2 separate regions of the Homo sapiens genome follow, and region 1 is linked to region 2. Evidence: promoter capture Hi-C in 16 types of primary human blood cells and fetal thymus (Javierre and others, 2016). All regions are on one chromosome and are shown on one strand. Each heading gives the region's core, a stretch centred on a gene start or on the middle of the fragment in contact. The rest is flanking DNA. Distances are from core to core; before and after follow the strand shown.

The links. The method cuts DNA at HindIII sites, captures the fragments that hold promoters and counts their contacts. A CHiCAGO score of 5 or more calls a contact.
Region 1: a fragment that was not itself captured here is called in contact with the fragment with the promoter of KCTD9 in region 2 in 3 of 17 cell types (fetal thymus, naive CD8 T cells and total CD4 T cells); the score reaches 6.0 in fetal thymus.

The regions. Positions count from the first base shown.
Region 1 is chr8:28,622,723-28,626,086 of GRCh38, reverse strand. It overlaps a transcript of EXTL3 not described here. Among named protein-coding and RNA genes, the nearest start is that of EXTL3-AS1, 77 kb to the left of the region's middle. RefSeq lists a silencer at 3,330-3,364. The HindIII fragment of the contact is 877 bases long and covers 1,332-2,208 here.
Region 2 is chr8:25,456,128-25,459,808 of GRCh38, reverse strand. It overlaps KCTD9 (potassium channel tetramerization domain containing 9), which reads left to right and starts at 1,376. Exons shown (of 12, transcript NM_017634.4): 1 at 1,376-1,610. The coding sequence starts at 1,563. It overlaps CDCA2 (cell division cycle associated 2), which reads right to left and starts at 576. Exons shown (of 15, transcript NM_152562.4): 1 at 336-576. RefSeq lists enhancers at 678-907, 2,278-2,327 and silencers at 1,048-1,257, 1,618-1,667. The HindIII fragment of the contact is 4,823 bases long and covers 1-3,681 here.

The DNA.
Region 1 (3,364 bases), core at 521-3,020, 3.2 Mb before region 2:
GATCCTCACACCTCAGCCTCCCAAGTAGCTGAGACAACAGGTGTGCACCACCTCACCTGGCTTTTTTTTTTTTTTTTTTTTTTTTTTTTGGAGAAATGTGGTCTCACTATATTGCCCAAGCTGGTCTCAAACTCCTGGGTTCAAGCAATCCTCCCACCTTGGCCTCCCAAAGTGCTGGGATTATAGGCGTGAGCCACCGTGCCTGGCCTTTACCTCCATGATTTTGTTAATGTTTGTTCCCTCTACCTGGAGCAGTCTCCTCCCACTTCTGGCTAAAACTTAGTCATCCTTTAATACTAATTTCAGGCACTGATTTTTTCAGAGGTCCGATAGCACTACGAGCAGACATCTATCATCATACCAACTGCATAATTATCTCTGGGTTGATTTCCCCAACTAGATCAGCTTCTTAAAGTCAGATGTTAAACTATTTATCTTCATATTCCTAATCCTAAAACTGTGCTAGGGTGTTTATTGAACAAATACATGAATAGGAATAGAGTGATGTTTTTATTATTGGAAACCTGGACAGTTCATGTATGAGTGACTATCTCCTTCAGAATAACTACTTCTATAACCTCACATTACATGACTATTATTTAAAAATTAGTATCATTAGACAATAATTTTGTTTTAAATTGGCACCACAAAGGGGGAAGCCACAGAGGAAATGCTCTGAGTTCCTCTCTATTGTTCTTTCTGCGTTCCTTTTTCCCTTCAAAATAAATGATGTGTTTTAACACAGAGCTACTCATGTCTTTATGGTTCTTCTGAGAGATGTTTCTGTTTCATCAGTGTCTAAGAAATATGCCGGCCCCTACTTCTGAGGTCTTGATGACACAGCCTCCATTTATAGATCCTATGTGCAGTGTTTTCACTAGGAGTGAGCTAAAGCTATGAGTCCAGTCTTGCACTTAGTAGGTAAATAATCTGCAGAAAAAATGAGTAATTGGTGAGTCACTCACCTGTTTGAGTTAACTCCTCTAAGTGCCGGTCTGTAACTGCGGGTCAGTTTTTAAAGTTTACCTCCTTTAGAAGCAAAAAGTATGCCAGCTGTGCCTTTTTGGAAGCATACAGGCATTGGAAGATTGTAAAAAACAGTGGGTCATTTTTTAAATTAACCTAACGTGTGTGTATTCACAGTTGATGCTGGAGATACTTGATCTGCTTATTTTTTTAGTTAGCCCATGAATTTGTATTTAAATTTCTTGATCTGAGTGTCAGTGTCTTTCCATAGGAATCACTTGAGGGTTTGGGTTTACTGATGTTTGCAAACCACTGTGCAAAGTTATTGTCTGAATTTAACATGTTTTTAAACTTCCTTTTAAGCTTCAGATGGTGCCTTCTAGTTCTTATGGTGTCGGTGACTATTAATAACTAGATTTTGGTTTTATCTTTTGGGTTTATTGTCCCTCCAGGGAAGTCAAAATGGTAATCACTAACATATACTAATTTTTTCTTGTTTTTAATCTTTTAAAGATTTGTTTCTTTTTACTCACAATTACAAAATGATTTTTATTTTTTGAGACAGGGTCTCACTCTGTCACCCAGGCTGGGGTGCAGTGGGGTGGTCTCAGTTCACTGCAACCTCTGCCTCCCAGGATCAAGTGATCCTCCCACCTCAGCCTACCAAGTAGCTGAGACCACAGGTGCTCACTACCATGCCGGCTAATTTTTTCATTTTTTGTAGACATGAGGTTTCGCCATGTTGCCCAGCATGGTCTTGAACTCTTGAGCTCAAGCAATCCTCCCACCTCGGCCTCCGGATGTTCTAGGATTACAGGTGTGAGCCACCACACCCGGCCTCACAATGCTTTTAAATGAATATTAACGTGAGATGTGGAATATTGTATGTAATAGGCAATTCATAATTTCACATTTTGAAAAAGAACTGATAATTCCAGAGCAAAGTACTCAGAGTTTGTTAAGGACCAGCAGGAATTTCTGCTTAACAAAATATTTAGAATCCCAACAACTCTGAGACTTATCTCCTTTCCCTGGGGATAGGTAAGGTGAGAACAATTGGAAAGAATTTTCTTCAGTTCTGGGGATGAGGAGAATTTTCTTATTATCTCAAGTCAACAGGTATGACTGTCTAGCAAAAAAGGAATGTGAGTTCATTGCTAGCATTTTAGACTTGGAATGAACAATAAATATAATATTAATAGTTCAACCTTCTCAGAGGCAGAAACGTTTTAAAACCAAGCTTGCCTGATTTCCCATCTGCTGCCTTTTACGAGCAGCAAATTTGTTAAGGAGGATCATGTTTACCTGATGAATATCTTTCAGTTTTCCTAATTATAACCTTTATTACTAAATGCCTAAAGGAGTTCACAAGTAAAATCAACCAATTCGTATTTATGGGAATGAAAATATAGGGGGAAGGTTTTAAATAAAAACATATCTTTAAAAACATGAATTATGTTACATGGGGGATAAGGATCAAAAGACACACGTGCTTTGCCAAGCCTTGAAAAGTAGGCAAAGATGGGGTCTAGACTTTCAGCATGGAGCCTTCAGGACAGGACATGCTTACCAAGGGGTGAGACTGAACGGATGGAGCCCTGCAGGGTGACCCAGAAACAGGCTGAGGACAAACACCAACAAAACTCAGCATTCCGAGCGCCCCCTATTCCCGGGCTTCCAATCTGCCAAACTTAACTTTTGAAAAGCTCAAATTGTGGGATCCCAAATTAAAGTCAGCTGTGCTGAGGGGCTCGCAGGTACGGCTGGCTTTGGGGTCCGCATTCTGTGGTGTCCTCTGGGGTAGGTGTGTTTGGGGCTGCAGGGACTGGAGGGCACCCACGGCACGGGCTTACCCACGGGGACAGCGCCTCCTGACAGCGCGCGAGGCGGGCGCGTGGCAGATGCCGCTTACCCCGTACCCGAGGCAGCAGGGGTCGGGACCCCCGCCCACAGTGTGATACGGACCCCTGCCGACAGCCACACTCTCCCAGTTCTCACAAATTCCCGCCTCTGTAGAAACCCAGCCCAGCCCACCCCGGAGTTCACGTCCACACTCCGAGGCAGGGGACATGGACCGCGAGCTTGCAATCGCCCGCCCCAGACGCCCAGAGCAGGCGCCCCACGTCCGGCCCGCGGGCAGGACGACGGGGCCAGACAAAGAGTTTTAAAATCGATCCCCCGGGTAAAGCCCGGGCTACAGCGAGAAGTGCGAAGCCGTCTCTAAATTTTAGCAGCTCGCCGCTTCTCCCGTTGGCACGACGAAGAAAAGACTTCCCACCCCCGAAAGGGAAGATCCCGAAGAGCCCCTACCTCGCTGCAGCGCCAGGTCCCGCGGTCTCCAGCGGCGGCCACTGCAGCCGGCGACAGCGCCAGCGGCCCGGCCCCGCCCTCTCCACGG
Region 2 (3,681 bases), core at 127-2,626:
CCCTGTGCTAACCATTCTTTTACTCTAAGCGCGTACTTTTAAAGCCAAATTAAACAGAAAGAAATGGAGAAAACTGCTGTTCAGGCACCAAAGCAGACCCCAAAGGATAAGCCATGGCTTTTCAACCGTAGCGAAAACCTGAATCATAAGGGTACCCCTCTCAAGACGCAGCTCTATCCATTTCCAGAAATTCTCTCAACAGGTCCGGATGCACTCCTGGTCACCCAGAGCAGCTCCTGACAGGAGTACTAATTCTGTGCTGCAGGGTAAGCCGAACAAAGTGCCTAGAAATGCCCCGGAGAAACAGCCCCGTGGCAGCGCGGATGCAATCCTACCTCTCACGCCGCACCTGAAGGCCCGCCAGGCAGACAGGCTTACTCCCAGAGCCCCGTGGCAGGCGAGCGTCGCGTCGGCCGCTCCTTCCAGACCCCGGCTCCTCTGTCCGGAAGGGCTCTCCTGGCAAAGCACCCGCAGCCGGGAGCCGCTCTTCGAACCCGGAGCCCGAGGTCCCGACGGCTGACCTGGACTCACAGCCTGCGCTGATCCTGGCCTGCGCTCTGCCCGGCAGCCTCCTCCACCCGCCTCCTCCGCCCGCCGACCGATTCAAATCCCCGACCCCGCCCCTCGGTACCGAATTTACTCTACGAATCACTCCGCCACCTCCCCCTTCTCCAGTCCGCGCACACTCCGAGCGCTCCCAGGCCTCTCCCTCGGCACTGGAGTGGCTTCCTGGGCTCGGAGAGGGACCACCGCGAGCTGCAGTCAACCCGAGGACTACAGACACCTGCCACTGCCTTGTGACCTCGGGGACTACTTTTCAGGAGAGTCTCGCGGAGTAACGCTTCTCTTAGCGCTTTAACTCCGCCTCCCACCTTTCTATTGGATGCTGCAAACTTCGAAAAGACTCATTCAACCAATCCTAACAGAGCGACGAGCTGGCTCTTACCCAATCAGTCCGTCCCTACCGCAGCCGTTTCCTAGCTGGGCCGGCTTGTGGGCGGGGCTAACGCTGGAGGAGGGGCTGACTGGTGCTTGGGTCCCTTTCAGCGCTCCACCTCCTTTCCCCAGACCCCGCCCTCGTATGCAGATAAGCGCTACCTAAACTAGAGGGTGCGCCTGCTCAGTAACGCTGGAAGCCGCCGTCCGGCTCCAGGAGCCTCTCTGATTGGCTGATGCCCCTTCCCGTCTACTAGCCTTCAGCGTCTCTTCCCTCCCTCCGTCCCGGCTAGGTTAGCCAGAGCCCGCCCGATACTGGGTGCTGATTGGCTGGACTCTGTCCGGTGACGCGGGTTGGTTGGTACGGCAGAGTGTCAGTCTCGGAGAGGTGGGGGAAGGGCCCCAGGCAGGCTGAGGAGCCTAGGGGCGGGGTGGGAAGGAGGACCGGCCGAACCTTGGGTGTGGGACAGAGTGCGTGCGTGTGGTGTGTCCCCAAGGGCAGGAAGGTGGCGAAGGGAGGCGAATCCGAGTGGGTGGAGGGAGGGGAAGGGCGGGAGGAGAAAAAGGTGGGAGGAGGACCAGGTGGGAGGGTGGCGGCTCACTCAGGACCCAGCGGGGGCAGCGCGATGAGGCGGGTGACCCTGTTCCTGAACGGCAGCCCCAAGAACGGAAAGGTAACGGGGGCGTGAGGGGGCGCGGCGGGCCGGGGGTCGGGGCGAGGGCGGACGGTGCGGAACCGGCTGGCGGGGCAGCGGTGAAGTTGGGTAGAGGGGCTGGGAGGTGGGCGTGCGCGGGCTGGGGGCGCTCGGGGACAGCACAGGGTCCCCGCGGCCTCCTCCCGACCCTCAGGACCCCCGTGCCCGAGCCTGCCCTTCAGTGCCTCAGCTGCCTGGGGGCCGGCGCGGTTCGGCCCGGGGGCTCCGGGTCTCCCGGATGCTTGGTGCGGGGGGCGCGGGGACGGGGGCGCGGGGAGGGCCGCGGTCACCTGGGCGCCCGGGCGGTCGCGCCTCTTCCCGCCTCTCCCCGAGACCCCGCTCCCGCCTGCGGGAGGAGGCGCGCCGGCTCCGGTGCTGAGTAATGATCTGCTCGGAAAGTGGCGGCGAGCACCAGAGCCTGTGGAGATGGGTCAGGGAGACAGAAGTAAACTGCCCGTGGATAAACAAAATCTCCCATCCGAGGTCGCAGACAGGATTTTTAAAATGGGGGCATTTTCTTGTTGATTTTTGCCCTCCTCTCTGAGATGCCTCAAGCCCCCACGCCCCGCCGCCGCCAAACTTCTCTGTACTCTTTTTATTATTTTGCCTTATTTTGATTCCCTAGAGGACGGGTACAGCAGACCCAAAAGGGATCGATTTGACAGTCGCCTTTGCTGTGTTAGGCCTTTGCGGAGAGTGTGGTGCTCAGTGTTCTTCCAGCGCTGGAGCAAGCCAAAACGAATTCTCTTCCTTCCCAGCCTTTTGCCCCACCCATGAAAGTTGTTCTGCTCCTTTGGGAAATTTTCACTGTTCGAGGCAGACATTTATTGCGTTGCTAAATGATACCTAGAAGTAACTCAGCCTTTACGAGTCTAAGGTAAAGGTAAATGGGTCTCGCTGTGTTGGTTGCCAAAATACTCTGCTGCCTGCACATTCGGGGAACACTGTAAATTTTTAAATAGTGAAATTGTCCAGTGGCATTAAAAATGGCTTTCCGATTATTCAGTGTAGAGTAAACATGCTCCGAAAATTCGAACCAGAGTGTGGTTTGTTGGCTATAATTTTATGTTCTTTTGGTCTTAGAGATTTAATACTCATTTAAAATCAGAATTCGTATAAATTCGAGTTCTTGAGTTATCATGAATGCTACCCCGAAAATATGTTCACGAAGTTTACATTTCTCATCACTATTAACTTTTTCTAAACCTGTTCTGTACTTAGCTACTACCTGTTATCTAAAACGTATGTTGTTACTCTAAGAAAGATTTAGTATGTTCAAAATTGGTAATATTTCTCAAAAACAAACTTCTGGTTGACCTTTTTAATGCAGTATCTCTGCTATGTTACTCATGGAAGACAAATATTTAAACCTAGTCATAAATATTTTTGCTCTAAATCTCTCCCAAATCCACTCAATTTGGTTGTCAAAAATTAACTGAGTTGGTCTTTCCATATTGTTGTTCACACGGATTTTTTTTTTAAGCTATCTAGTTTTGACTAGATTAGATTCTTGGATTTAAATTTTATTTACTTTAAAAATATTCTGCTAGAGAATCTCAGAAGATTGGGGAAAATGCATCTCAAATAATTAAATATAAATATGTTTATGTTACAACGTAAAAATCCAAACTGGAGAGTACTAGATAAAAAGAAGCAAAGCCATGATCTTCACTGCTCAGCTGATGAACATATTCTAAGACGTTGGCAGTGTTTTCTCTCCCTTCAGTTGATTAAAAAAATTTATAATTATTCTTATTTGACAAAAGAGCTGCATAATACATAACAGCTTGCATTTTTATATATAAAGTGACTAATTGGATTGGCATGATCATGACATGAATGTTCATTAAGAATAAGCTGGGAAAAGTGCTACTCAAATAGAATAGAATTTGATTTCCCATCCACCAGTTGGAATATCTGTACCACTTACTTTATCTCCCTTACCTCGCTTCTGCTTTTGTTTCCTGGTTATAAGAATAATCTCTGTTTTTTCAAGTAAGTTTCCCTCTCATAGCTTGTTTAGTAGTTACCAGACTGTGAGACTATGAAG